3 separate regions of the Homo sapiens genome follow, and regions 1 and 2 are each linked to region 3. The links are contacts of gene promoters, found by promoter capture Hi-C in human tissues and cell types (Jung and others, 2019). All regions are on one chromosome and are shown on one strand. The core of a region is centred on a gene start or on the middle of the fragment in contact, and the rest is flanking DNA. Distances in the headings are between cores, read along the strand shown.

Region 1 (2,870 bases), core at 226-2,725, 50 kb before region 3:
TTTTCCCTACTTTCAGGGTGATTTCATCAACATTCTTTTCTAACCTTTCAATTGAATTTTTTATTTCTGATTTCATGTTTTTAATATCCAATTAACTCCTTATTTTGGTAATGTTTCTTTTTTATAGTATTCCAATCAGTCAGCATTCACTTAAAAAAAAAAAACAGAAATAACTCCAGATATTTTAAGCAAAAAGGGATTTGGTGGAAGGGGTTGACTATAGTAATGTCAGGAAGGCTGGTTGAGCCAAAGAGAAGAGGATGCTGCCCAAAGATCAGGAAGCTCCCAGTGCCCACCCCCACTGCTGCTCTGCTGGAAGCATAGCCCTGCCACCATTGCATTGAACTGTACCACTGCCGCTGAGCAAAGTCAGGATCCCCAACTCTGACCATTGTATCATGCCCGGCTGGCTCTGCAATGTCATTTTGATGTGTCTTCAGTATGGATTTTTTTTTTTTTTTTTCTGAGTCAGAGTCTCGCTCTGTCACCGAGGCTGGAGTGCAGTGGTGCGATCTCCAACTTTTTCAGTTTTCTTTGATAGGAGAGTGGTCCCAATGACCTTTTCTACCATTACTGGAAGTTGAAGTTTGATGTGTCTCTTGATATTCCCATACTCATCATTACTTATTGCCATTAAAATAAAACAAAAATAACTTAAATGTATTCAACATCAAACATAACACATGCTGTCATATATAACAATCAAGACTCTCATTTGCAAGTTTGGGGACCCCAACTCAAACTGACTTAAGAGGAGAAGGTTCATATAACTGAAAAGCCCAGAGACATTTCTGGTTTCGCTACAGTCAAATCGAAGGGCTGTAACAAAGTCATGAGATTTGGTCTCTCTCTTCACCCTTTGCTGCTTCTGTTAGTGTCACTTTCAGGCAGGCCTTCAGAACCTGTAAATTTGGCATGTCACATGGCAAAGGGGAATTAAGAGTGCTAATCAGCTGACATTAAAATAGGGAGATTTAGAAGAAAAAAAGGACAAAGCAAAAAATGGGGAGAGTACCTTGGAATTTTGGGTGGGCCCAATGTAATCACAAGTGCCATTAAAAATGGAAGAGTGAGAGAGAAGTGTGTTAGAGATAGGAGTAGGAGAATGGTCAGGCAGATGCAACATTGCTGGCATTGAAGATGGAGGGAGAGATCACAGACTGACGAGTCTAGGTGGCTTCTAGCAGCGAAGAGGCAAGGAAGCGGATTTTCTTTTAGAAACTCCAGAGAAGAAAACAGGCCTGCCGATACCTTGATTTTTAGCCCAGCGAAACTTGTGTCAGACTTCTAAACTACAGAACTGTAAGAATAAATTTGTGTTTTATCTAAGCCACTGAGTTGTTGCTAATTTGTTACAGCAGCAATAGGAAACTAATACAAGTGGTTTCCCAAGGAAATTTGAGGCTTCTTAACAGGTAAGAGAGAATGTAGACAGGGCAGACAAAAATAACAGATGTCTACTATACCACATGTGGTGTTATGATAGACATTGGTTTTCGTCCACAGTTCCGGGCTCATAACTGCTATAGCCGTTGTTAGTTCTTTTGTTGTAATATTGGGTATGTGTTAGGCCTCAGGAAACAGAATCTCTCCTTCTCCTGCCCTCCTTTCACCTGCCCCAAGACAGGCCTCTAATCTTTCTCAGGCTTTCAGATTGTGGGTCTTAAGATCCTACCCAGAGAGGTTCCCTCTATACCCTGGGGGAAAGAATGCGGAGGTCCTGAAGCTTCCATAAAAACCCTTGAGGACGGTTCAGGGAGGTTCCCGATACCTGAACTCGGGGAGGTTCCTGGAGGGTGGCGCCCCCCACACCCCCCACCCCCCACGGAGGGCTTAGAAGCTCTGTGTGCATTCCCCATACCTCACCCCACGTGTCTCTTCATCTGTTTCCTTTTTTTATGTTTTTCATGCATTTTTTTTATTTTTTATTTTTCATTTTTTTTTTTTTTAGACAGAGTCTCACTCTGTCACCCAGGCTGGAGTGCAGTGGCGCGATCTTGGCTCACTGCAACCTCCGCCTCCCAGGTTCAAGCAATTCTCCTGCCTCAGCCTCCCAAGTAGCTGGGATTATAGGCGTGGGCCACTACACCCGGCTAATTTTTGTATTTTTAGTAGAGGCGGGGTTTCGCCATGTTGGCCAGGCTGGTCTTGAACTCCTGACCTCAGGTAATCCGCCTCAGCCTCCCAAAGTGCTGGGATTACAGGTGTGAGCCACCGCGCCCAGCCATCTGTATCCTTTGTAATATTTTTTGTAACAAACTGGTAAATGTGTTTCCCTGAGCTCTGTGAGCCACTCCACCAAATTAATCAAAGAGGGGGTCATGGGAACCCCAACTTGAAGCCAGTCCTAGAGGCCCAGACTTGTGACCGGTTTTGGTGGGTGGGCAGTCTTGGGGACTGAACCCTCAACGTGTGGGATCTGATGCCATCTCTGGGTAGACAGTGTCAGAAATGAATTAGAGGACACCCAGCTGGTGTCCACTGCTTGGTGTATGGGGAAATCACCTCCAACGTTTGGTCACAGAAATCTTCTGCATGGATGATTGTTGTGCTGTGAGAGTGAGGAAAAACATGGTTAGAGTTCTCCCTACATACCATATGACGCACTGTGTCACAATTACAAATTTTTAAAAGCCAGATGGCACCTACTTTTTTTTTTTTTTTTTGCCATTACTTTCAATGGCAACAACCGCAATTACTTTTGCACCAACCTAGTAATATACTTTGAGCAGCATTAGAGTTTTATTCTATTTTATATTCTTTGGATTTATTTTAATGCTGTTTACAGGAACTGAAAAGCTCCATTCTTTTTAAAAGATTTTCTAATTAAAGTATAACATACATACCAAAAACACAAATGTATACAGATT
Region 2 (2,700 bases), core at 183-2,682, 37 kb after region 3:
GAGGTCTCCAGCTGAGAAGAGCCCCCGCCCCGTTTCCTGGCAGTGGGTGTGAGCCCTCTTCCAGCATTTGGCCCTTGTTCTAGGAAGCAGCCACTCCAGGAGCTGCTGGAGACCCTTGAGCTGCAGCTGCCATCCTTCCAGGGGAGATGATGGAATTATTTCTGGGGCCTGGAGACAGCTGGCAAGAGCACGGGAAGCACAGCAGGGCTGAGTTATCTGCCAGGAGTCGGTGCCGGGTGGGCGAGGTGCTGGTGGTGGTGTGGTGCCTCCTCTGGTCACAGACGCTTGTCCTTCCCCAGCTAAAGCCCCAATCGGGAGTCAGGAGTCCTTGTCTCCCATGTGTACACCTGTCTGTCCTTCTTCCAGGACCTGCGGGAGCTGGGCTTATGGAAGTGGGATTTACTCACACTTACTTTTGAGGGTCCTCAGCCTGCCCAGGCCTCAAGTAATGAAGCCTCCTGGCCTCAGGGAGTCAGCCAACACTTACAAGGAGCCAGGCTTCAGCTTGAACGCCCAAGACTGGTGCTGTGCACACTTGGGCTGGGAGGTGCACGTGAACACACATCAACGCACAGCTAAGCTTGTCCTATCTCACACACACACACACACACACACACACACACACACTCAGCTCTGGCTTCTGACAACTGCCCCTTAGCTCTTCTGTGCCTTTGAACTAATCTCACTGAACAAGTGGTCAGCAGCTCCCATTTCTTACCACCCTCTCACAGCTAATCCTTTGCAATGTAGCTTTTGCCCTCTGCACACTGATGGTCCTTGTTCATTAAGTCCAGCCACGTGGGGCCGGGCCAACTCAGATGAACTCATGGGATTAAAACCTCTTACTTGATCTTAGCCTGTTAAGAAATCATCCCTGTGGATTTATATACACCTTCCCAGAAGCTATTTGTTTCATTCAACTCCTGCTTGCTTGGGGCCCAAGCTTGATCTGTACTTGTGTCAGTTTCTTTTAAAAACCGTCTCAGGAGGCCGGGCATGGTGGCTCATGCCTGTAATCCCAGCACTTTGGGAGGCTGAGGCAGGCGGATCACCTGAAGTCAGGAGTTAAGAGACCAGCCTGACCCACATGGTGAAACCCCATCTCTATTAAAAATACAAAATCAGCTGGGCGTGGTGGCAGGTACCTGTAATCCCAGCTACTCGGGAGGCTGAGGCAGGGGAATTGCTTGAACCTGGGAGGTGGAGGTTGCAGTGAGCTCGGATCGTGCCATTGCACTCCAGCCTGGGTGACAGAGCAAGACTCTGTCTCAAAAAACAAAACAAAATAAAAAAAAACCTGTCTCAGGAGCAAGCCCTTGTTAACCATATTCACACCCATGACGCTGGCCAATGCAGATGGTATTTCCCTCCCCGTACCCACTCCTGCACTCGGAAGAGGATGTTCTGGTGCTGGGCTCTTACCTATAGTCTTGCCCACTCCCTGACCTACTTGTTCCGATTCTACCTTCTCTCCAGTGCAGTGACAAAGGTGGTAGCAGTTTTCCAGATGTGGATGCTTCATGATCTGGTGCAGATGGTCCCCAGGTACAAACGCCCCAGTCCAGCCCTCCCCCAAAATGGCACCTGCCATCTATAGGCTTGATCCTGCCCCGCCCCTGGGTTAATGGAAAAAGGGCCTGGTGGGACATTCAGAGACCTCCTCACTAGCCAATTTGGTATGGAAATATGTTTGTGGCTGTGGACAAGGACCCAGGGTGTCTCATGGTGGATGTAACATTAGACAGAGACTCTCTCTAGCCTCTGACTGCTCTGCCTGATCAGTCCTTCCTGTGCCAGTCCCAGGCCATTCAGGTTCTCCACTAGCCTTTGGAGATGGCTGAGGCCCAGATGGAAGAAAGGGGACCTGCCCTTCTGCTCTCCTCAGTTCCTTGCCCCAGGGTTGGGTTCTACTTCCAGAATCCCTCAAAACATTTTGCACAAAACTCCCAGGTAATCCAAATCAGGACCACCTCTCAGAGCAGTCTTCCTGGATGTCGACCCTGGCCTGGGTTGGATAGGAATCTGGGAAGAGTCTGAGGTTTCTGGATGGGGTGACTGGGGACAGGGGAGTTGGTTTTGGACAGGTTGAGTGTGTGCTGCCTGTGGAACCCAGTAGAATGGTCCAGTGGGCATTCGGATGGTATTAAAATGCTCCCGCTCCCTCATTAGCTAGACTTTCAGTTTCCTGTTTGCTTCAGAAAGTAGAGAACTGGGGGTTGTGAAAAGCTCAGTCACTGAGCAGGTAAAGTTTGATTGGATGTCGGGAGAAGTAGTCACGGAGTGGAAACAGCTGTGACCTTTTCTTTTTTGCTTGTCACCTAATTGCTATTAGTCATTAATTCATATAAACTAGATACCTTTGAGAAGTAGGACATGGTCAGATGAATGAGGTGTGGAGACTTAAACAGTAATGACATGCTGAGTTCACAGGTCTCTGTGTCATTATGACCTGCCTTACATGTAGGTCATAAATATTTTATTTCTGTCTAAATAAATTATAAAAAATGCACTTAATGATATTAAGCTGCAGCTACTTACCTGAAAAGGAACAAAATATCGCCTCTGAAGTAACTACTAATTATACAATTTTGCAAACTAATAAATATTATTTTAAATCTACTCAATAGTTGATAAATCAATTATGAATTAATCATAAAATTATTCTGTGCTTTAATATTAGTTAAGTTTTTACTGTTTACT
Region 3 (2,791 bases), core at 33-2,532:
GGACGGCAGGGAACCCCGCCTTGGCGGGCTCTGCGGGTCCTGCGCCCGGGTAGATTTTGCTGAGATGGGGAGAGGGGACCCCCTCCACGCCCCCGGAGTAGTGAACACCATTTTGTTTGAAAGTATCCTGCAAAGAGAACCACCTCACGAGGCCATGGCTGCCAGGGGACTCCTCTCCCCACCGGATCGCCGGGGAGCCCGGGGAGGGAGGGATTCTGCAGCTGCAGCTTGGAGGTCCTTGATGCTGCATTTTAACGCGCATCGCAACGCCTTTGGAGTGACATTAAGTGCAAAGAGGCAAATGACTAATCCAAACTATTATTACAACTGCAGAAAATAACACAGATCAATGGCAAAGGCTTGAACCGGGATTAGCTAGGGAGGTGGGACAAACCGGGGATGATCCTTCCTCTCCTTTTTTAGATTTGTTTATTTTGGTAAATTATGTATGTATTTAAACATGAAGAAACAGGTGAAGCGAATGTAAATTGGGTTATAAATAATTTCCAAAGGCTTCGCTGTCCCTTGACAGAAGCCAGAAATAAGACAGGCACTGGGCCTGAGCGCTCTGGACAGGGAAGCACCCGCGTGGCGCTGGGCAAAATCTTCTCAGTGGAGAGAACGCACTCCGGGTTCGAGACCTCCCCGGGTGCAGATGCGAACTGCGGTGGCCCCAAGTGGCCGTCCACTTTGTTCATGAGAACAGTTTTCCTATAACGCCCACCCGGCCCTTTGCATCCCGCAATCCCGCGGGCGTCGGAGCGGGTCTTGGCGCGAACCAGGCGGCCTCGGCGGGGTCCTGCGGCGGAGGGCAGCGCGGCCGCAGCCCGGGAGAGGCGGCCGCGGCATTGTTTCAGCCCCTGGGGTGGGATCCAGCTGGGGGAGGGGAGGCGGGGTGTCCTCCGGAACCGCCCCCGGCCCTCCCTGGGGACCCGTGCCTCAGCGCGTCCAGGCTTTGTGGTGTCCTGAGTCGCCATGGAAACCCGAGGGAACGCGGAGCCGGGTGCTAGGGGGGTCGGTGAGTTCTCCGGCCGCGCCCTCCGTCCGCTCTCGGACCCCGGCCCTGCAGCAGGGCCTGCCGGGAGTTGTAGTCCCCAGGCGGCGGCGGCGCGCGGCGCCAAGGATGCGGGACGCCGCCTGTCCCCGCCTCCCCTTAACCTGCTAGCTGAGGTGGGGAGCGGCGGGAGGAGCCGGCCGCGCGGTGATTGGCGGAGGCCGCTCCCAGCCCCCGACACGCGCCCCTCCCCCGCTCCCCACTCTGGACTCCCGCGCTGGGCGCGCTGAGGCGGCCCCCGAGCGAGCGCGCGTGCAGCCGCCGCCGCCCCGAGCACCCGCAGCTCCGGCGCCGCGGCGAGACGGAGACGGACCGAGCCACGGGCCCCCGCGGCCGCAGCATCTCGGAGGAGTGGGTGATGGCAGGGGGGTCGGTGGGCTTACCCCTCCCGGGCTAGGACATCCTCCTCTCCCCCTTCTGTTTCTGCGTGAGGCGCACAAAAGGGCGGGGAGCCGGGTGAGCCTGGGGCCCGGCCGCAGGGGACGCGGCGGGAGGTGTGGTTTGGGGTTGGGAGGTGGCCATCGGGGCTAAGCCGGGGCGCTCTTGGGGTCCTCTTTGTACGCCCGCGAAGCGCCGTGCCGGGCCTTGCTCATAGTAAGCGTTTAATGCGTGCTCGCGGGGTTGCAAAGCCCTGGGGTGAGGAGGCGGCTCGGCCGAGGGGTTTCGCGCCTAGCACGCAGTGGGCCGCTTTCCTAGCCGGGCGCGGTGCAGTGGACCGCTGGAGGGCTGGGCGGGGGCGCCTCTGGCCGGGGGCCAGTCCTGCCGGTCCCAGGATCTGCGCTGTCCCCGGTCCCACACACCACCCAGATACACACCCTCCGTCCTTCTCGCCTCCGAGCTGGGATCTGCCCAGCCTGGACCCGACCCGGCGGTCTGTTCCACCGCCCGGCTAACGGAGCGGACGCCTGCAGAGGACTCGCCCGCCGCCTCCGAGCCTCCCGCCTGAGCCACAAAGGCCTCCTGCGGCTGCCCAGCCCGGAGCGGGCGCCGAGCCGGGTCCCTCGGCTGGAGCCCAGCGCGGGAGCCCGCCTTGCAGCATCGATCTCAGCGGGCACCGACGTCGACGCCCCGGGCCTGGGGACGGGGCTGTAGTCTGAGCTGGAGAGAAGCCGGGAGAGGGCGAGGGGAGGCCTCGGTTGAGAAAAGATGGGGATGGGGAAGGCTGGGGAGCTGGGTTAGGACAGGTAGTGGGTCTCGGGGAGCAGGGAGTGGGAACTAGGGTTTGAGGAGGAAAGAGAAGGGGCGGGGGCGGGTCCGAAGAACGAGGGAAGGAGCTCGGTGCAGGTGGCGCCCGGCGAGGCTGGTTCTGCTGAAGAATGGGGAGGGGAGGAGGGATGCAGGCGGGTGGAGGCCGCCTGGGTTTGAGGAGGGAGGACGGGAGCGAGGAGAAGACCCGCGCTGTGCGGGGGAGGGGGGCCTCCTGGGAAGGGGAGCCTCCCGAGGAGGGAGGGGCAAGCAGCTGAGAGGCGGTCTCGGGCCCGAGGATCCTCAGCTCCAGGCGCGGGGCCCCGCGGCCCAGGTGGCCGGCTGGGCGTGGCCCTCGGACCGGGGTTAGGGACCCAGGATGGCAGATCCGGGACCGGGCTGGGCTGGCTTGGTGAGGAGCTTTGTCTCCAGGCTTGAAACCAGCCGGTAGCGACTCGCTTAGGGTTTTGTGATCTTCCGCGGCGCCCACGGCACGCCCTTTTCTCGAGGAGCTGAAAGGCTTTGCCCAGCAGCAGGTGCTGCCAGGGAGGC

What was found. The method cuts DNA at HindIII sites, captures the fragments that hold promoters and counts their contacts. A contact is called where the count stands out against the background at its distance.
Region 1: a fragment that was not itself captured here is called in contact with the fragment with the promoter of DPYSL5 in region 3 in 2 of the 25 tissues and cell types used here (IMR-90 fibroblasts and hippocampus).
Region 2: a fragment that was not itself captured here is called in contact with the fragment with the promoter of DPYSL5 in region 3 in 9 of the 25 tissues and cell types used here (H1 embryonic stem cells, bladder, hippocampus and 6 more).

The regions. Positions count from the first base shown.
Region 1 is chr2:26,796,355-26,799,224 of GRCh38, forward strand. No RefSeq gene overlaps it. Among named protein-coding and RNA genes, the nearest start is that of CENPA, 12 kb to the left of the region's middle. The HindIII fragment of the contact is 9,087 bases long and covers 1-2,870 here.
Region 2 is chr2:26,883,929-26,886,628 of GRCh38, forward strand. The region is part of intron 1 of DPYSL5 (dihydropyrimidinase like 5); the gene reads left to right. Among named protein-coding and RNA genes, the nearest start is that of DPYSL5, 37 kb to the left of the region's middle. RefSeq lists an enhancer at 2,123-2,172. The HindIII fragment of the contact is 5,290 bases long and covers 1-2,700 here.
Region 3 is chr2:26,846,850-26,849,640 of GRCh38, forward strand. It overlaps DPYSL5 (dihydropyrimidinase like 5), which reads left to right and starts at 1,283. Exons shown (of 13, transcript NM_020134.4): 1 at 1,283-1,405. The HindIII fragment of the contact is 13,507 bases long and covers 1-2,791 here.